Regions from separate parts of the Homo sapiens genome. Here regions 2, 3 and 4 are each linked to region 1. The links are contacts of gene promoters, found by promoter capture Hi-C in blood cells and fetal thymus (Javierre and others, 2016). All regions are on one chromosome and are shown on one strand. Each heading gives the region's core, a stretch centred on a gene start or on the middle of the fragment in contact. The rest is flanking DNA. Distances are from core to core; before and after follow the strand shown.

Region 1 (5,225 bases), core at 1,687-4,186:
CCAGAATTATACAAATGGTTAATATATTGTCACCTTGCTTTGATTACCATTTTTAAAATTAATTTTCTTTCTTGTTTTTTTTTTAGAGACATGGGTTTCACCATGTTGCCCAGGCTGGTCCTAAACTCCTGAGCTCAAGTGATCCATCTGCCTTGGCCTCCCAAAGTGCTCGGATTACAGGCGTGAGTCACTGCACCCAGCCTGATTAGATGGAGTTTTGCTCTGTCGCCCACGCTGGAGTGCAGTGGTGCGATCTCTGCTCACTGTAAGCTCCACCTCCCGGGTTCACGCCATTCTCCTGCCTCAGCCTCCCGAGTAGCTGGGACTACAGGCACCCGCCACCACGCCCAGCTAATTTTTTGTATTTTTAGTAGAGACGGGGTTTCACCGGTTTAGCCAGGATGGTCTCGATCTCCTGACCTCGTGATCTGCCCGCCTTGGCCTCCCAAAGTGCTGGGATTACAGGCGTGAGCCACCGTGCCCGGCCCTGATTACCATTTTTTAAAAAAGAAATGGAACATTGCAGGTAAGGTTAAACTCTTCTATGACCTCTCTCCGCAGTTCCTGGGTGACAAGAGCGAGAATCTGTCTCAAAAAAAAAAAAAAAAAAAAAAGAAGAAGAAAAAAAATTGTCATCCTTGCGCAGGGGCCATGCTAATCTTCTCCGTATCATTCCAATTTTGGTATACGTGCTGCCAAAGTGACCACTCGATTACCTATTCCAATATAATGAAACCCTGTTTCTACTAAAAATAAAAATAAGATAAAAATAAAAAAAATAGCTGGGTGTTGTGGCGCATGCCTGTAATCCCAGCTACTCAGGAGGCTGAGGCAGGAGAATCACTTGAACCTGGGAGGCGGAAGTTGCAATGAGCCGAGATCGCACCACTGCACTCCAGCCTGAGCGAGAGTGAGGCTGTCTCAAAAAAAAAAAAAAAAGGAAATAGAACATTGCAGGTAAAGTTAAAGTCTTCTTTGACTCCTCTTCTCAGTTCCATCACACTCCTTTCTACCCTTTCTTGAAGCAATAACCATCAGGATATGGTATATAGATCCTTGCAGTCAATTAAAAAAAACAACAAAATACATATATCCAATAGCCAATATGCTTTTGTTTTATGTGTATTTGTAAAAAATATACATAAATGACATTATACTATATATATAATCCCTCTAGATAAAGTTACATATAGTGTTAGGTTTTATGTATTAATTTTTGAAAACAGGGTCTTGCTCTGTCTCCCAGGCTGGAGTGCAATGGTGAGATCATTGCCCATTGCAGCCTGTAACTCCTGGGTTTAAGGGATCCTCCTACCTCGGACTCCCAAAGTGCTGGGATTACAGGTGGCCTAGACTTTATAAAGCTGTTATCACCTCTTTCTTCTTTTCTCAACACTATCCTTTTGACATCTATCTAACCCTGTTGAAACAGATGACCGTCATTCCTTTTAAATGTTATACAGTATTAAATGTTGTGCACATGCGTGAGGCATGAGTTTAACTCTGGGGCCTCTCCCTAGAAATGGAAATCCGGGGTCACAAGCAATGGGCATTCCCGTTTTACTGTTAGATTCTGCTCTCCCGCCAGCAGCGTCTGAGAGGTGCTTGGGGTTCCCCTGAGGGTTCTGGGGGAGCTCGGACTTGCGTTCCCAGCAGGCCGGTTGTCGCCTGCTTTGTGCCTAATTTGCGTCACTGGGGTTCCTAGCGGACTCGCCTGCAAGTGTGCTCAGGACTGCAGGGAGGACTCTTCGGTCACTGCGGCTCTCTCCCCATGGTGGACTCTTCTGAGGCGCTTGACTGCGCTGATTTGGGCCTTTATCTGTCTGCATGTCGGCAGGGGCGCCCAGGAAGTCGGGTCCCTCTAGCTCAAGCTTGTTTGGGCTCTTACAGCTTCAGGCCAACAGGGGGCTGGGAAGCTGAGCACTTACTCATTCCGTCCCCGTTGGTAACTAGGGCTGGTAGACGCGTCCAGACTGCAAACAGTATTTCATCATTTTGTCTGTAGCATGCAGCGGCCAAAGCTGCCAACCTATGAAACGCTTTGAGAAGCCGGACGCTTTGGGAGGCCGAGGCGGGTGGATCCCCTGAGGCCAGCCTGGGAGACATAGTTAGATTCTGTCTCTCAAAAAAATTTTTAAAAAATTACCCCTGATGTGGTGCGCGCCTGTAGTCCCAGCTACTCGGGAGGCTGAGGCGGGAGGATCGCCCGAGCCTGAGAGTTCGAGACCAGCCTGGGCAACGTAGCGAGACTCCGTCTCTTAAAAAAAATAAGTAGCCGTTTTTCTGGGTGGGTGCATCCCTCTCTGGTTCCTCGCTCTCCAACTGGCCCTGGTCCTGGGGGCGTGAAGGCTACGATCTGGAGAGACAGAACAGCGGGCTGCCTCTGGAGGACGGGCCTAGACCCCATTCATTCATTCATTCGTTCTGTCACCCACCCGTCCTGCGCGCACGCGAGCCACCCTAAGCCCCAGGACCTCAAGAACCCCCACCCCACGGGGCACAGACAAGGACAGGCTGGCCAGCGCCTGGAAGCCGCGTGCCTGACCACGTCTGCCCGAGCGAGTACCGCCTCCCACCCGGGAGGCAGGAGAGCCGCGACCGTCGGGCCGCGCCCAACGTCTCCCGCTCAGGGGCGCGCCGCCTCGCTTTCAGCGCATGCGCGCCCGGGAGCCCGCCCGGGGCGTCGGCGCACGCGGTCCCCACCGGCCGGCTTGCGTACGCGCTCCCGGCTCGCCCTCCCACGCGGTCCACCGCGCCTCCCGCCCCACCCTAAGCGCAGCGACCGCCCGAGCGGCCGACCGAACCGCGTTGCGTGCGTGCGCGCACGCGCGGGCCACGTGGGCGGGCGCCGCGCCGTTGCCCCGCCCCTTGCAACCCCGCCCCGCGCCGGCCCCGCCCCTGCTCTCGCGCCGGCGTCGGCTGCGTCTCCGGCGTTTGAATTGCGCTTCCGCCATCTTTCCAGCCTCAGTCGGACGGGCGCGGAGACGCTTCTGGAAGGTATCGCGACCCGGCGGGCCCGGCACGGCCGGGCGGGGACAGGGGTGGCGGCGGCGGGATAGGGGTCGGAGCCGGGGCCAGGGCCGGGGCGGGTGGCGGACCCAGGGGCAGCGGGCGGCTGAGTAGGTGGGTGGTGCGGGCCCGGCCGGGCCGGGGCAGGAGACGGGCGTGGGGTCGGCGCTAGCCCCCGCGAACCCCCGTTTCATCCTCCGCTCTCATCCCCGTCCCGGTCCCAGTCCCGTTCCCATCCCTACACCTCCGGCCGCCGTTCCCCGGGCCCCGCCGCCCCGGATGCCGGCCCCGCCCGCCGCCTTCCCGCTCCCAGGCCTGGCCGCCATGGCGCCGCGGGCGGGAGGCCTTTGTGGGGCGGGCACGTGGGGCGCTGGGGGCGCGGGAGCGGGGCCGCCATGGGCTGCGGGGCCGCGCGAGCGCTCGCCTCCGTCCTCTGCCTCCGCAGGAACGCCGCGATGGCTGCGCAGGGAGAGCCCCAGGTCCAGTTCAAAGTAGGTAACCCTGCGGGGCGGGAGGCGGCCGAGCCCGACCGCGTGCGACTCGCGGGTCCCTCCTCCTGGGGCCACGATGGCTGTAATGGGGCCCCGCATCCACATTCTTTGTTTTAAGTGAGCCTGTGGTGGTTAAAGTTCCGTGACTCTGGGATCTTGAGAGGTGAAGTGTTTAGGGTTTACTTCCAAAATGTGTTTTTCAACAGCTTGTATTGGTTGGTGATGGTGGTACTGGAAAAACGACCTTCGTGAAACGTCATTTGACTGGTGAATTTGAGAAGAAGTATGTAGGTATGTGCTGGAAAACCTTGCTTGTGGAAATATGTGAGAAATGGGTAAGTTCATCCACTCAATCGCATCGTTTCCGTTTCAGCCACCTTGGGTGTTGAGGTTCATCCCCTAGTGTTCCACACCAACAGAGGACCTATTAAGTTCAATGTATGGGACACAGCCGGCCAGGAGAAATTCGGTGGACTGAGAGATGGCTATTATATCCAAGGTAGGCATTTGTAACTTGCTGAACGGTTTTTGAGAGGTTTTGTGTACTTCAGTCTTCAAGGTTATAGAAAATCAGGTCTGTTCCAACAAATAGTGTCATTTTTGGGTTAAAAAAAGACAAGTGGACTTCGGGGAGTTGACCACCATTTTGGTGGCAGAGAAAATTTTATTAAAGTTGTGTCATTTGCATGCTGTGTCATGCTAGGCATGCTTTAGAAAAAACTATGACTTACACTGGGACTTATAAGTCATATTTAAAACAATAATAGGCTGTTAACAGCAGTTTCAGTATTTGGAAACTTAGGTTCATGTATGTATTTTGGTGTGGTGATCAATGAATGTTTTTACTGTATTAGAAAACAATAAACACCAGATACTAGACCAGAGGAGATAGGAGATCTTAACAAGTGTTATACAAGACTAGCTGATTTCTTGTTAAATTGTTTGTACTAAGTTGTGCAGAGTATTTTTCTCAAATAGTTTGATTTAAAAATTGCAAGGAAAATGTTCATTGTACCAAAAAGAGGAATCAAGAAAATACTCATCTCTCTTGGAACCTCACGTTGCCGATAACACATTATCTGGAATCATTCCATGCCTTTTGCTTTCCTTGAGCATGTACAAATAAACACAAGAATTTCCCCCAAAAGAATCCTTTAACCAAAAAGTTGTGGTTTCTTGCCTTGCTAACTGTACCATAGTTATTCCTGCAGGTGAATATATAGGCTTTATCTGGGTTATTTATTTATTTAATTTTTTTTTGAGACAGGGTTTCGCTCTGTTGCCCAACCTGGAGTGCAGCTTCCGCCTCCTAAGCTCAAGCCATCCTCTTACCTCAGCATCCTGAGTAGCTTGGACTATAGGCACGTGCCACTATGCCTGACTAATTTTTGTATTTTTTTGTAGAGATGGGGATTCACCATGTTGCCCATGCTGGTCTGGAACTCATGAGCTCAGGTGATCCACCCACCTCAGCCTCTCAAAGTGCTGGGATTACAGACGTGAGCCACATTGCTTGGCCTATCTGGATTTTTTAAGACAGGAATAATGTTTTCCAGTATAGCCAGCCATTTAAAGACCTTCTGAAGAATGTGTTTCCAGGCCCTACCCTCAGAATATGGCAGCTTGGTTATCCAGAATCTCATTTAGCATTAATTACTTCAGATACTTTTTTGGGATGAGGGGAGTATTAATGGTGAAGTATATCAGGGAGATTTGATAGGGTCA
Region 2 (4,920 bases), core at 1,705-4,204, 280 kb after region 1:
GTTTTCATTCTGCTGCACAGCACATTTTATCCAGATGGGTTCTTCTTGATGTGATGCAGTGTGTTCTTTTATCTTATTGATAAAAGAAAACAGCCATGCTGTGAATTTTACTTGCTTCACAAGAAAATCTTTTCCAAGAAGAACATTTTCTTCTTTTTATGATGTGTTTGCGTTGCAAATCTTTTGCAGTGCCAGTACTTTTTTTCTTACTCATGAGTTTACTCTGGAGATCAGGATTGTTTTCCTGAATCTCAGTGGATTTTCCCATGGCTAGGGTGGCTATTAATTAGACTTTCTGGAATACAGGGATGGGACTAGATTGTGGGTTGAGTGGAAATAACTCTATGGCAGACCTCCAGGGTACTGATCCGTGGTTCCCAGCCTGTGGTGGGCCATGCAGAGCTGCTTTTTTAAACAGGGTATCTGCTAATCAATATCTACCCTAAGCATTGTCTACAGTTTGAATAAGCAATGTGTCTCCTACATCTAGGTGCCTGTCTTTCCAAATGTAGATCATGCTGTAATTAATAAGAAGATCACTTAAAAGCTTCATTGCAGTCATAACTGTAGATTGACCTTGTGTATTTTTTAACTGGTGAATATTTATCATACAGTTCCTCTCATGGGAAGGAGAGAGAGTTCAACCAGTCATTTTTATTAGTGAAAGTCAGGGCCCTCCAGCATAAGCAATTAAAATCAGCTCTGTGTAAATCAAAAGGTGAGACTTGGCTGCATATCGATCCCATTATTGACCTGATGGTTTTGTCTCCATAAAGAATTCCTGCTGTCCACAGATTGGATTCCTGTGTTTCGTTCTCCGTGTCTCATTTAAAAAAATAAACATTTTATTTTAGAACATTTTAGGTTTATAGAAAAATTGTGAAAATAATACAGAAGGTCTCCATGTAACCCACACCTAGTTTTCTCTATTATTAACATCTTATGTTAATATGGCACATTTGTTACAGATAATGAACCAGTATTGATACTGTATCACCTAAAGTAGTACTTTATTCCAATTTCTCCAGGTGTTCCCTTGTATCCTTTCTCCCTTGCAGGATACTATTTCAGATGCCACATTACACTTAGTAGCCATGTCTCCTTACAGTCCTCCTGGCTGTGACAGTTTCTGAGTCTCTCCTTGTTTTGATGACCTTGACAGTTTTAAGGATTAATGATCAGGTATGTTGTAGAATGTACTTAAGTTGGGATGGATCTGATGTTTTTCTCATGCCTGACTTGGGTTATGGGTTTTGGGGAGGAAGACTATAGAGGTAAAGTGTCATTCTCATCGCATCATGTCAAGGGTATGTACATACTATCAACATGACTTATATGTTGACTTGTATGTTGACATATGACTTATATGTCGATGATGACCTTAATCACTGAGCTGAGGTAGTGTTTGTCTGGTTTCTCCAATGGGAAATTACTCCCTCCCTGTCTCCCCATTCCATCCTGTTTAGAAGGAAGCCACTGTGCACAGCCCACACTAAAGGATTGTGGAGTTATGTTCTACCTCCTCAAGGAAGGAGGCTCTGCATAAATTATTTTGAATTCTTCTGCATGGGACATGTCTATTCTTCCCCATTTATTAATTAATTCAGCCATTGATATCAGTACAGACTCATGGATACTTACTTGATGGATTATTATCCAATACTACTTTAATGATTTTGTTGCTCAAATTATTCCAGCTTTGGCCATTGAGAGCTTTCTCAGTTGGATCTTGTGTCCGTCTGACATGCCACTGTGTGTGTGTGTGTGTGTGTGAGAGAGGAGCACTTCCTCTATTAGATATGTGTTTTGCAATTATTTTCCTCTCGTCCGTGGCTTGCCTTCTCATTCTCTTAACAGAGTCTTTCACAGAGCAAAAGTTTTATTTATTTATGTTTTTAACTTTTATTTTAGGTTCAGGGATGCAAATGCAGGTTTGTTACAGGTAAACTGCATGTCACAGGGGTTTGATATACAGATTATTAAGCATAGTACCCAGTAAGGTAATTTTTCACTCCTCACCTGCCTCCCTCCCTCCACTCTCAAGTAGGCCCCCCACTGTCTGTTCTCTTCCTTGTGTCCATGTGTGCTCAGTGTTTAACTCCCACGTATAAGTGAGAACATATGGTATTTGGTTTTCTGTTCCTTTGTTAGTTCACTTGGGATGATGGCCTCCAGCTCCATCCATGTTGTTGCAGAGGACATGATCTCACTCTTTTTTATGCTACGTAAGATTCTGTGGTGTATATCTATCACATTTTCTTTATCCAGTCTACCACTGATGAGCATTTAGGTTGATTCCATGTCTTTGCTATTGTGAATAGTCCTGTGATCAACATACATGTGCACATGTCTTTATGGTAGAACAATTTATATTCCTTTGAGTATATACCCAATAAGGGATTGCTGGGTCAAATGGTAATTCTGCTTTGACTTCTTTTGAGAAATTGCCAAAGAGAAGTTTTATTTTAATAAAGTTCAATTTATCAATTTTGTCTTTTGTCAATTGTACTTTTGGTATCATGTCTAGGAACTCTTCAGCAAAACCTAGATCCAAAAGATCTTCTTCTAAAAGGGCTATCGTTTCAGCTTTAAATTTAAATATAGAATCCTTTAAAAAATAACTTTTGCATAAGGTGTGAAGCTGAAGTCAAGACACATTCTTTTTGCCTGTGGATGTCTTAATGGACATCCAGTTGTACTAGCCTCATTTGTTCGAAGATCTCTCCTTTCACTATTGACTTGCCTTTGCTCCTTCATCAAAGATCAATGGACTATACTTGTATCGTTATAGTTCTGCATTCTCCATTCTATTCCACTGACATATGTGTCTATTTGTTTTCCTTCCAATACCACACTGTCTTAATTATTTGGCTTTATGGTAATTGTTCAAATCAGGAAGTATGAGTCCCCATACTGTGTTCTTCCTCAGAATTGTATTGGCTATTCTAGGCCTTTTGCCTTTCCACATAAATTTTAGAATCAGTTTGTCAATATCTACAAAATACCTTGCTGAGATGTTGATTGGGATTTCAATGAATCCACAGGTCAATCTTAAACAATTCATTTCTTAACAATATTGAGTCTTCCCATCCATGAATATGGAATATGTCTCCATCTATTTTGACTTTTAGAATTAGAATAATTTCTTATTTAAATGTTTGGTAGAATTTAGACTTACTTTTTAATTCCAATGTGTATACTTTTAATTAATTAATTTTTAGAGACAGGGTCTCACTCTGTCACCTAGGATGGAGTGCAATGGCATGATCACAGCTCACTGCAGTCTCAACCTCCTGGGATCAAGCAATCCTCCCGCCTCAGCATCCCAAGTAGCTGGGACTACAGGTGTGCACCACTGCACCTGGCAAGTTTTGACCTTTTTTTTTTGTAGGGATGAGGTCTCACTCTGTTGACCAGGCTGGTCTCAAACTCCTGGACTCAAGTGATTCTCCTACCTCAGCATCCCAAAGTGCTGGGATTACAGGCATGAGATACCATGCCCAATGTCTATTTTTAACTAGTTTTTATTTTATTTTTAGTGATTGCCCTAGAGATTGTAATATAGATTTTAACTAATCTAAATCCATCTTCAAATAAGAGTATACCACAGATATACAGGTATCTTACAACACTGTATCTCAATTCCCTCTGGCCCCATGCCCTGTTATCATCCAGTTCACTTGTCTATGTGGTATATAATTATCTAATACATTGATGCTATAAGTTTAAACAGCTATTTTTAGATCAATCAAGAACAAAAAAAAAAAGTAAACATTTTCTTTCACCTCCATTTATTTTTCTCTGATACTCTCCCATTCTTTATGTAGATCTAAGTTTACATCTGATTGTATCATTTTCCTTCTCTCTGGAGAAATTCTTTATACATTTTTTACAGGGAAGTTCTGCTGGCTAATTCCCTCAAGTTTTGTCTGAAATAGTGTTTATTCTCCTTCACTATTTTATTTTATTTTATTTTATTTATTTTTTTATGAGATGGGGTCTCACTATGTTGCCCAGGCTGGTCTCTAACTGCTGAGCTCAAGTTATCCACCTGCCTCAGCCTCCCAAAGTGCTGGGATTACAGGCATGAGTCACCACATCCAACCTCATTCACCTTTATAGAATCATTTTGCTGGCTATTATGTTAATTTTACATTGGTGATTTTTTTCTTTCAATAACTTGAATATTTCACTCCACTGTCTTTATTTGCCTCTATGGTTTGTGACAAGAAATCTGCTATAATTCTTATTCTTGCTCATCTATAAGTAAGGCGTTTTTTCCTCTGACCAAGATTTTCTTTTTGTCTTTGCTTTCTGCAATTTTAATATGAAACATCAAGATTTTCTTTGTATTTATCCTGCTTTGTATTCTCTGAGCTTTCTGGATCTGTGGCTTAGTATCTGTTATTAATTTTGGAAAGTTCTCAGTTACTATTATTTCAGATGTTTCTTCCAACCCTTTCCTCTAATTTTTTTCTGATGCTCCAATTACACGTTACTTTTTTTTTAACAGTTGCCTCACAGGCTTGGGTGTTATTTGTTCCAATCTTTTTTCTCTTTGCATTTATGTCTGGGAAATTTCTATGACCCTATCTTCAAGCTCACTGATTGTTTCCTCAGCGGCATTTGGTCTACTGACGAGCCTATCAAAGGCATTCTTCATTTCTGTTAAAGGGTTTTTTATTTCTAGTGTTTCATTTTGATTTTTTCTTAGTCTTTACAGCTCTGCTTACATTAGCCATCTGTTCTTGCATGTTGTGTACTTTTTCCATTATAGCTCTTAACATATTAATCCTAGTTATCTTAAATTCCCTGTCTGATAATTTCAACATTGTGTCATATGGGAACCTAGTTCTAATGCTTGGTTGGTTTTTTTCTTGTCATCTGTAGTCTTGCAATTTTTGTTGTTATTGTTGTTAG
Region 3 (4,973 bases), core at 1,180-3,679, 480 kb after region 1:
CCACCCGCCTCGGCCTCCCAAAGTGCTGGGATTACAAGCGTGAGCCACCGCGCCCGGCCTGGGTTTTCTTACATACAACTGAGTTTCTGCTTACACATTCTTTAATTTCTTTTAATTCCTGTTTTAAGACCAGAAAGAAGATGTGGAATGTGGAGGGAGCTGGGTCGATAGAACATGGAGTTTTGATTGACTTTTATTACCAGGAACTTCACAGTGAGAATTCCTCAGAGAGCATGGTATGGTAATGCTGTTCATACTCAGGTGCATACGTTCACATGCCCACATTCAGATGCCCATGCTGGACAGGTGCCCATCCCAGGCAGGTGTTCACACTCAGGGGCTCACTCTCAGGGGCTCACCCCAGGAAGGTGTCATACACAGGAGCTCACTCTCAGGGGCTCACCCCGGGCAGGTGTTCACACACAGAGGTTCACTCTCAGGGGCTCACCCAGGAAAGTGTTCACAGGGGCTCACTCTCAGAGGCTCACCCCAGGAAGGTGTTCACATTCAGGGGCTCACTCTCAGGGGATCACCCCGGGAATGTGTTCACACACAGGGGCTCACTCTCAGGGACTCAGCCCAGGCATGTGTTCACAGGGGCTCACTCTCAGGGGCTCACCCCAAGCAGGTGTTCACACACAGGGCCTCACTCTCAGGGGCTCAGCCCAGGCATGTGTTCACACTCAGGGGCTCACCAAGGCCCACCTGGGGAGCACAGGGGCTCAATCCCACACTTTACACCAGCAGTTCCTTGCAGACCTCAACAGCTCTGCTCAGCAGTGTGGGAGAAAGAGGAACATTTAGAGAACAGAACCGTGGGCGATATTATTTGACATGTCCCTCCTCTTCCTCTTCCTCCTGTCACAACATCAGGATTTCCCTGAAGAAAGTGACCTGCACTTTGACCCAGCCCGTCACATCACCAGTGAGCATGTGACCTATTACTGGCCAATCAGAGTCATACACAGCCCAGCCTCATCATGGTGATTGGATAAGAGGTGGGCACATGACCAAATCAAGCCAATCATAGTCCCAAACATCCTCATCACAGTGATTGGATAACATGTAACCACATGACCAGATCAAGCCAATCAGAGTTACACACACTCTCATCACAGTGATTGGATAAGGGATGGGCACACAACCAAATCAAGCCAATCAGAGATGCACTTCCTCCTCCTCGCTGGGACTGGATATTAAGGGCAGTAGATACTGATTTTCATTTTGGAAAATGATGCAAATTTTCCTTTTTAAAATTGAATTATGTAAAATAAGGTAGTTGATGGAAAGGAAAAAATTAAGTAACAGGTGATAAGCTAATACCTCAAACATGGAGCTCTGTGAAAAGCCAGCCTTGAAGCCCTGAGTTAATCCAGCCACTAGAGCCTCCCTGAATCCTGGCTGAGCCACTGGCCCTGGAGGGTGCAGGGGACGTCGTCCACCAGGTCTCCCTGCAGCTCCGCAGCAGGCTGCGGGTACCAGCCATTCTAAATGCAAAGCACATGCCCGCCCGATGAATTATGAATGGTGTTTACAATTCCTCCAACACAACCGGGCCATCAGTCATTTATAGCTGCACCAATGGCTCTGCCACTCTGAGGTCGCTGGAAGAGAAGGACTGACCAAGCCTGATGGGTTGGAGGAGAAGCCAGCGGAGGTGCCGGGATGGCCTGGCCGGGCCTGCTGGAACCAGAGGCAGGCCGATTCCAGGACCAGTGTTCTTTCCTTGGAAAACACGGAGTGAGCTTCCTGACGTCGCTGACCACTTCCATGAGAATGGAAGAAGGAGGATGCACCCCGGAGGGGCAGAATTTCTTGTCCTGGAATGCCGGCAGTCAGCCCCTCACTCCCGTCTTCCCGCAGAGGAGGCTCTTTGCCTTCTCAGGCTCTTCAGGAAACAGATTCCACTCGTCACCGATAAACCAGCTCCAGGTTTCGTTGTCCTTGCTGCCAGGCTGCCCGGCTGTGTCTGGCCTTACCTGATGGTCTGGCACCACAAGTGGGTGCTGCGCTGTATGCTCACCAGTTGCTGCTCCTCCTTCCTTGGTACGTGGTGAAGCCACATTGCCCAGCCTGCCTGGCAAGGAGATGTGGTCACATGGCTGCGTTCTCATCAATAGATGGGATGGGGACCGTTTCTGGCCGAAGGAAGCATGATTACCGCCTTTATGATGTCTTGTCCATTCTCCTGGAAGGACACAGACATCAATGAGATGGTGATTCACATCATGGAAGGGGTTTGAGTCTCAGAAATACACCATGGAAGAGAGTTACCTGTCTCATAACCACTTGGACTGCCATAAAGGCAAGACATAAGCTTCTATTGGATTTGAGTCATCATGTATTGTATGAATGTGTGCAGTTATTTAGAGAGAAACTTGCTTACTGACACAGACACCATGTGTTGAGTATCTAATATGTGCAGAACATTGTGCTAAATGCTTTGCATATACAGCGTTGCCTAAGCCTCACAACAACCTGCAGGCCTGGAGACCATTATTTTCCCACTTTAGAGATGAAGAGATTTAGATTTAGAGAAGTTAAGCTTGCCCTGGGTCACACACCTACTAATGAATAGAATTGGGACTCCACAGCTCAGGTTCTCAGTGCCAGCTAGAGTGTCCTCAAAGCAACATGATGAAGGAGTATTAGCCATGAAGATATTCTTTCTCCCTGCTCCATCCAGCAGGGAAGGGGCCTCCCTGGAGCTCCACAGCAATAGGCCCCAAGAAGGTGGGCAGACAGGAAGGGAGGCCACGTGTGCCATTGCACTTCAAGCTCAGCCTGGGTTGGGGCCTGCATGCCAGTCAGGAACCTCTTTCTGCAAATGGCAGAAACCCAGTTCCCAGTGGCCCACACAGAAAAGGCCACATACCTGTTGTTCATCTACCCCAACGTTCCAAGCAAGGCTGGATCAAGGTGTTTCTTGATGAACTCAGGAGTCTCCTTCTCCATCTCTGTCTCTGTTTTCCCTGAAGAGGAAACAAGGCAAAAGAAACTTGAGGCTCATGTTCTGAAAGCTAGATAGTGAAGTGCCCTCTCCTCTGTAGCAATCACTGAAGACCATCATCTACACCTGCAGCAGCATCGTCACCTTGCAGCAGCAACTCAGGGTCACTGACTTGCCCCTGCCACCTGCAGCAACCACTCGGGCTGACTCACCTGCCCCTGCCACCTGCTGCAACCACTCGGGGTGACTCACTTGTAAATGCTGCTGCATAAGCAATAAGGGTGCACCCAGGGAGGGAGCAGCTGGAAGGGAAATGCAGAGAGAAGTTCTGGGGGTTCCAGGTGGGACGAGTGATCAGCTGACAGCCCTCCAACCACGATGTGCAGTCCCCCATACCACGACCCCTGTCCCCATCCTGCCTCTGCTGAGGAGTCTGAGAGCTTAGTCCTTGGGGTCACCCTGTTCATCCCTGCATATGTGCAGATCTGCTCTCACGCTCCTGAAGTGCTGGAATTCGTGCAAGTTCAGAATCTCAATTATTTCTGACCTCAACCCTGTAAGCCTCATGTAAGTCTTCTTCCTTTGTCTGAACTCACACTAGCCACTGAAGGGAGAGATCTGGTGACTTCATTCAACATTTGGTTATTAAGCACCCCCCTGTACCAGGCTCTGTCCCAGGCGCTGGGGACACAGCCCCAGGAGAGCCATGGCTCTGCTCTCCTGGAACTTATGTTCCGGTCCAGTGAAGAGACATACAAGTATGTGAGAAAATGAATACGATAATCCTCAGTTGTCAAAAGGGCCGTCGATGAAACAGAATGGACCATGTAACAATGTGGCTGGGGAGAGGCCATTATGAGCTGGGGCAGCCAGGAAAGATCTCTTAGAGGGTATGATATTGGCACCAACAAGGAGCCAACAGCATGCAAACCTGGGCAGGTGCATACCAGGCAGCGGCATCACCAGGGAAAGGTCATGCAGCAGAAACCAGTGTGGCCCTGTGAAGAGCAGAAAGGAGGCTGAGGGCAAGGAGAGGAGGCCAGAGCTGCAGCAGGTCAGCAGGGGTCAGGCCCCGTGTGCCTTACAGGCAGGGGAAAGGGTCTAGCTTTTGCTAAGTGCCCTGGCCACTGGTAATATGGGGAGGCAAGACAGTGTGCAACATGCTCTGCCCCCCGAGGGGCCTCCCAGGCTGCACTGCAGAGAGAGGTGGGAATGGAAAGAAATGAGTTTTCAGGCTACTGCACTGGTCCAAGCAGGAAATAAGTGTTGCTCAGACTACAGCGGTGGCAGTGGAGATGGAGGGAGGACATTTTTTCCAGATCTATCTTGGAGCTGGAGATGACAAGATTTGCAAATGGATTGGCTCTGGGGAGAGACCGAGAGAGAGAGAGAGAGAGAGAGAGAGAGAGAGAGAGAGAGAGAGAGAGAAATAAAAATAAAAAAGAATTGGTCTTCTGATCTTGTCTGAAGAGGAGGAAACAGGTTTCAGGGAGATGCAGGTAGGCTGATGAAGAAGCACTGGTATTGGCTTTCATGCACGTTTGGAAGCCTTGGGAAGGCCTACATATTCTCTGGAAATAAATTGCTCATGATTCCAGTTAATCATCCACAAAATAATGCAAGGTTTACAATAAATTGTATTTCCCAGCTACTGAGAAACAAAGCTGGTAGGAATGAACGGAGCCCACACTGACGCGCGGCCGAAACACACGTTCCATCGTTCTGAGCTGAAGGGGGGCAGCCTGGACAGAGCACATCATGGGGAGAGGCCGCTGTTCCCTGCTGTGCCAGGCCGGGGTGACTGGCGGTTGATAAACAGCCCCACTCCTTACAAAGAGCCCTGGAGCGGGAGCTGGCACTGCCGACGTGCCATTTATCTTAAGGCTTTCATGGAGGGAAAATATGTTTTAAAAGCTGCCTGGAAAAGGACAATTATTAATGAAACTCTTCTATCAGTGTCTTCACTCGTTTGCTGGGAAGGGAGATGCTGACATACAAGAGTGAGGCCAGGCAGGCTTTGGAA
Region 4 (5,026 bases), core at 2,171-4,670, 260 kb after region 1:
GACAGGCCGGCCCTCCTGTCTGGGTGTGAGTGGCAGCCCCGCCCTGCTGTCTGGGTGTGAGTGACAGGCCTGCCCTCCTGTCTGGGTGTGAGTGACAGGCTGGCCCTCCTGTCTGGGTGTGAGTGACAGGCCCGCCCTGCTGTCTGGGTGTGAGTGACAGGCCCGCCCTGCTGTCTGGGTGTGACAGGCCCGCCCTGCTGTCTGGGTGTGAGTGACAGCCCCGCCCTGCTGTCTGGGTGTGAGTGACAGCCCCGCCCTGCTGTCTCGGTGTGGACGTTCAGGTTGTTTCCAATCTTGTTACAGATGAGGCCCCCGCCTGTGTCAGTGGGTGAGGTACCCGGAATAGAAATCCCTCAAGGGAAAGGGGCAGGAGTTGCAGAATGGCAGAGTCAGGACCTGGGGAAATCTCCACTCCCAAAACAAGGAAAGAACTGGAAGAATTGTTTTGAAAAAATAGTCGGAATTCTAGAAACAAAGGCATGCACACTAAAAGCATTTATTCAAGAAAAACTTCTGAATCTCAGTAAGAGCAGGCAGGGTCTGTGGCAGTTTGACTTGGGGCACCTTCCATCTCCACCTCCCTCTCTGTGTGATGCTGTAGCCACCACTGGAGGCACGAAAGTGCTTCCCAGGCAGATGGCCAAGGCCAGCCTGCCCCGAGGGCATGGGCCGCACTCACACATCAGTGACCATCAGCCATCTGCAATTGAAATCCCCACTCGAAGTAATAACTGCACATTAGTCACGCGTTTGTCACTGTCCTAGTTGAATCATCACTGCATTTGAAAACCACTGACCTGTCATCCACGCTGCTCCCGCTTGCTGCTCCTAGTTGAGTGTGGCTTTCTTCTCGTCGTTACACAGTGAGGTTGGCTGGGGGGCATCAGCGTTTCTGGACATGCTCTTTGTGCAGACACCATGCTGGGTGGCTAATGTGTTGACTTCTTTTCCCTTCCCTGGCCTTTGGACACTTCTGTTATTAGCCTCACTTTACAGATGGGAAAATAAGGGCAACTAAGGTGCATCCGACTGTCAGCTGAGCTGGGCGTGAGCTGAGCTTCCAGGTGTTGAGGTGGTCAGTGAAGACAGGAGCCGAGGAGGGAACAGTTGGGGTGCTCACTGCCACAATAGTGTCCTAAGGGGCTAGGCAGGAGGGGGCGGCCCCACCACGCACCACTCTCTCCCAAAGAACAGCACCAGGAGGGTCTGAAGCCTCCGTGCAGACAGGGCCGGTCTCCTGCTGAGAGAGCCCTGGGCGGAGGGCTCCTGCTGATTCATGGGCTCGGGAGCTGCGCGAGGAGGAAGGGGAAGGGCTCACAGTGGAAAAGTCCTGGGCACAGAAGGTGGCTTCAAGGCCCCTAGGGTGAGGCGGGCTCAGCAGTTGCTTCAGAAAGGCCTGGCGCGGGCACCTAGGCGAGGGGTGCAGGTGTGCGGAACAGCGATGCTGGCCCATCCCGTGCGGGGGAAGAGCGAGGCCGGCCCATCCCGTGCGGGGGGAGAGCGAAGCTGGCCATCCCGTGCGGGGCCCCAGTGGCTGCCCTCCGACTGCAGCTCCCTTCAGAGACTGCCAGGCTCTGGCCGCGCCCAGGCTGGCGTGGGGACAGCAGCTGCCCTGTGAGGCCGGCGAGGTAGAGCCCTGTTCATTGCCTGAAAGTTCGAGCCTGAGAGTTCACACAGAGGACTTTATCCTGGAACTGGACTCCTTGCTGACTCTGTACACGGCCTCAGAATTTTTCAGACACAAGGGAGAAGGCTAACCCTCACCCTAACCCCGCAGCCAGAGGACACTAGGGGGTTCTTCCCCATGCTGTGCCTGCCTCGCCAGCCTCCTACTGAGGGAGCTGCCCAGGTGAGGGGCAGGTTGTGCTGAAGCCTCTGCCGGGGCCCCTCAGTGCCCCGCCCAGCCCCATAGGTCCCAACAGGAGCCTTCCAGCAGTTTCCCAGCAAGGAGGGGTGCTGGCAGGAGATGATGCCCCTCTGCCGCAGCTTCTGTGGCTCGCACAGCCGCAGGCCTGGGCCGGGGCGGGAGATGAGAGCCAGCTCCTGTGCCGGGGCCTGGCACATTGAGCAGTCGTTTGCACAGTGGGCACTATCCTTCTCATCACCTGGGGCACTGAGGCTCCGAGGACCTGGGTGAGTTGCCCAGGGTCACACTAACGAAGCAAATGCTAAGATGAGGTCTGGCCCAGGCTCATGCCCTCATGCCCGGATGTGTTCCTGGGACTAGAACTCGTCTCTGCTGTCTTCTCAGTGCAGGTGCTCTCAGAGGCAAGCTTGCATGTTGTGTGTGTTGGTAAAAGCCCACGGAACAGGGTGAGATTTGTCCCAGTGATGCCCCTGTGTCCCAGGAGCCCTGGCTGGGCAGGGGTAGCCTGTGGTGAGGGCAGTGGCCAGGCGGACGCAGCTCTCCTGCAGGTGCAGCCCAGGCCCCCCTCACCTTCCTCCATGGTTTCTTGTGCAGGTCAACATTGGCATCCTCATCGCTGTGACCAGAGTCATCTCACAGATCAGCGCCGACAACTACAAGATCCATGGAGACCCCAGTGCCTTCAAGTAAGTTGACCTCAGGCTGCCAGCAGTGCCACGGCCCTTCTGCCCCCAGAGGATGCTTTGAGGTCACAGGAGAGATAGCCACTCCTGCCTCCTGTGGCCGGCACCAAAGTCCTCCACTTGCTCCGTGTCCCTGCCATCTCAGGGCAGCTCTGGTTTCACGCCCTCGCTTGGCTCTCGTGACCCAGGACAGGGCCTTTACCCAGCCCCAGAGCTCCCATGTGTAGAAGAACGGAGTCTACGGAGTTCTCCTAGGGATTTCTTCACCCCAGGGTGATGAGCAGCTGGGGGGCGGCAACGGGGAAGATTCTAGAGCCAGAAAGCCCCTGCCAGTCCCGCATCTGCCCTGGCCATCTGCTGGGCTCAGCGAGTTTAGCCCCTCAGCACCTCGCCTTCCTCACGTGCAGAACGGGATGATAACAGGTTCCCCCTCAGCTGGCACATCAGGGAAGGTGCAAGGGAGAGCAGTGTCCTGGTGTGCTCTGGGCTGCCCCGCCTGGAGAAGGGGCGGGGTCTCTGGGAGGGATTCCAGCCACACAACTCACTGCCATCGGGGGTGTCCTGACCTGCATCTCTTACGGCCCAGCCGATTGCAGGTGACAGAAATCCCAGCATGCACTGGCCTAAGCAGAAGGGGGACTCACTGACGCAGCTGACTGTGAAGTCCGGAGCTCAGAAGCCCTGGCGTTGCAGGAATTCTTTGGCAGTTGCAGCACCGGGCCCAGCTCGCCTTCGCATCCTTAGTGTTGGCTTCAGGCCGAGGTCGACTCTGCCCCCTGGTGGCCGAATGGCTGCGGCAGGGGTTCAGGCCCACGGGGGAGTCCCTGTCCCACCTGCTGAGACGGAGGCCTGCGCCTGGAGGACGATGGGGACTCAGGCTGGACCTGTGCCCTCCCTGAGCCAGACCCTGTAGAGGGGGATTCACTCATATGACCGTGTGACTGTTCAGTTAGCACCCCCAAACCACAGGGCTGAAAGCTGGGGAGGCTGTCCCTCGCAGGGAATTCAGGGGCTTTGTGAAAAGCAGGGCGTGGGTACCAGGCAGCTGACATTCTGTACTGTTACTTCAGCCACCGCGTATCTGTTCTGATGTGAAAGCAAAAGTGGCAAATATGTCAGCAGCGAATCTATGAGAGAATTAGTCTGTAATGAATTCCAAACACCATAAATTAACCTGACAAGAGGCTGCAGCCTCCTTGGGCTGTTCAGCTCCTGGAAACCTTCAAGGGTTGTGCCCCGTGCGAGAAGAGATGCTCGTGGGGTCAGAGATCACGTCCTTTCCTCTTCCATTGCTGAGACCAGGATGGTCTCCTGGACCTCTCATGGCCTGGCTGGGGAGGGACCTGTCCCTTCCTCACCCCAGCCCTCAGCTCCCCAGGCCCTCACCTCAGCGTTCAGGGTCAGCCAGTCTGTTGCCAGCTTGTCTCCAGCAAAAGCTCACAATCCCCTGTCTGAGCCCCATGAGGCCACTACTTCCACTGTCACCAGAACACCCCTGTGCACCTGCCCCGCACCTGTGCACCGCCTTCCATCTCTACCCCACTGCGCCCCATCCTCCCATCAGTGCCCACCCAGGAAGCAGCTTCTGTCCACTGCCTTTGCTTCTCCATGGAAATGTCCTCCAAGCGACAGGCTGGCACTGTGTCTGCAGCTCTTGTGAAGGCTCGAGGTAGCGTGCCCCGGGAGAGCATGCCCAGGTCTTTGCAGGGCACAGCTGAAGGCATTGCCCATCCTTCCCACCTGCGTCTGCACCTGGCAGCCCAGGGATGCGTCCCTTCCGGGGAGGTGCAGGCAGGCATCTCTGGGGACAGACCGCTCTGGGTCCCTCTCCATTGTGCAACCCAGCACATTTCCCAATGCCTTCAGCTCCTCTCCTTTGGGCGGCCAGGTCTGCCCCTCAGGGATGCTTCCTCACAATCTTCTTAGTGTGGATTGTGTAACACTTGACTCCCAGGGCTGAGGAAGCACAGCCAGGGAGCAGGCGCCAGGCAGGAAGAGGCAGTCACTGCATCGTGAGGAAGCTTCCCCAGCACCTTGCTATTCTTCATCCTCTGGTTTTATTCTAGTGATTTTCTTAGTGCCAAGCAGCCCAGTACTCAGTGAATAACAAGATAAGATTCTTCCTCAGGGGCCCTCCACAGGGTTGGCTTTCACTTCCCTGCCACCCCCCTACCCCAAGAAAAGTGGAGAATAGAATAAGTGAGGTCTGAGCAGGGGGAGAAGCCTGGCTTTCACTTTTTAAAAAAGTCTCTGTTTATTGATTGTGATTCCAGACTCCTGAAAAAGAAGCAGAGAATGGTCAGGTTTTACAAGTGGGACCCTGGGGGCGGGGGCGTGAGGGTGAGACCCCCACAGAAGTGCACCCACGAGCAGGTGGGCTGTGGGGCCTGGAGACTCAGGGCCTGAGCCCCCTAGGCCAGGGCCAACCTTGGGGGAGCAGAAGGGGGTCATAGATCAGAGAGGAAAGCACACCCCC

What was found. The method cuts DNA at HindIII sites, captures the fragments that hold promoters and counts their contacts. A CHiCAGO score of 5 or more calls a contact.
Region 2: a contact is called between a fragment that was not itself captured here and the fragment with the promoter of RAN in region 1, in 1 of 17 cell types (monocytes). The highest score is 6.4, in monocytes.
Region 3: a contact is called between a fragment that was not itself captured here and the fragment with the promoter of RAN in region 1, in 1 of 17 cell types (megakaryocytes). The highest score is 5.9, in megakaryocytes.
Region 4: a contact is called between a fragment that was not itself captured here and the fragment with the promoter of RAN in region 1, in 3 of 17 cell types (total B cells, naive B cells and naive CD4 T cells). The highest score is 8.0, in total B cells.

What each region holds. Positions count from the first base shown.
Region 1 is chr12:130,869,130-130,874,354 of GRCh38, forward strand. It overlaps RAN (RAN, member RAS oncogene family), which reads left to right and starts at 2,937. Exons shown (of 7, transcript NM_006325.5): 1 at 2,937-2,997; 2 at 3,455-3,500; 3 at 3,707-3,791; 4 at 3,874-3,999. The coding sequence starts at 3,465. It also overlaps the pseudogene RNU6-1077P. RefSeq lists enhancers at 1,977-2,738, 2,162-2,241, 2,739-3,500, 4,729-4,798 and silencers at 2,522-2,981, 3,052-3,191, 3,242-3,451. The HindIII fragment of the contact is 6,850 bases long and covers 1,870-5,225 here.
Region 2 is chr12:131,146,334-131,151,253 of GRCh38, forward strand. No RefSeq gene overlaps it. Among named protein-coding and RNA genes, the nearest start is that of LINC01257, 16 kb to the right of the region's middle. The HindIII fragment of the contact is 4,819 bases long and covers 546-4,920 here.
Region 3 is chr12:131,350,812-131,355,784 of GRCh38, forward strand. All of the region lies in intron 2 of LINC02370 (long intergenic non-protein coding RNA 2370), which reads left to right. Among named protein-coding and RNA genes, the nearest start is that of LINC02370, 5.8 kb to the left of the region's middle. The HindIII fragment of the contact is 228 bases long and covers 2,316-2,543 here.
Region 4 is chr12:131,129,264-131,134,289 of GRCh38, forward strand. ADGRD1 (adhesion G protein-coupled receptor D1) reads left to right here. Exons shown (of 25, transcript NM_198827.5): 21 at 2,462-2,553. Among named protein-coding and RNA genes, the nearest start is that of LINC01257, 33 kb to the right of the region's middle. RefSeq lists an enhancer at 2,891-3,523. The HindIII fragment of the contact is 2,298 bases long and covers 2,272-4,569 here.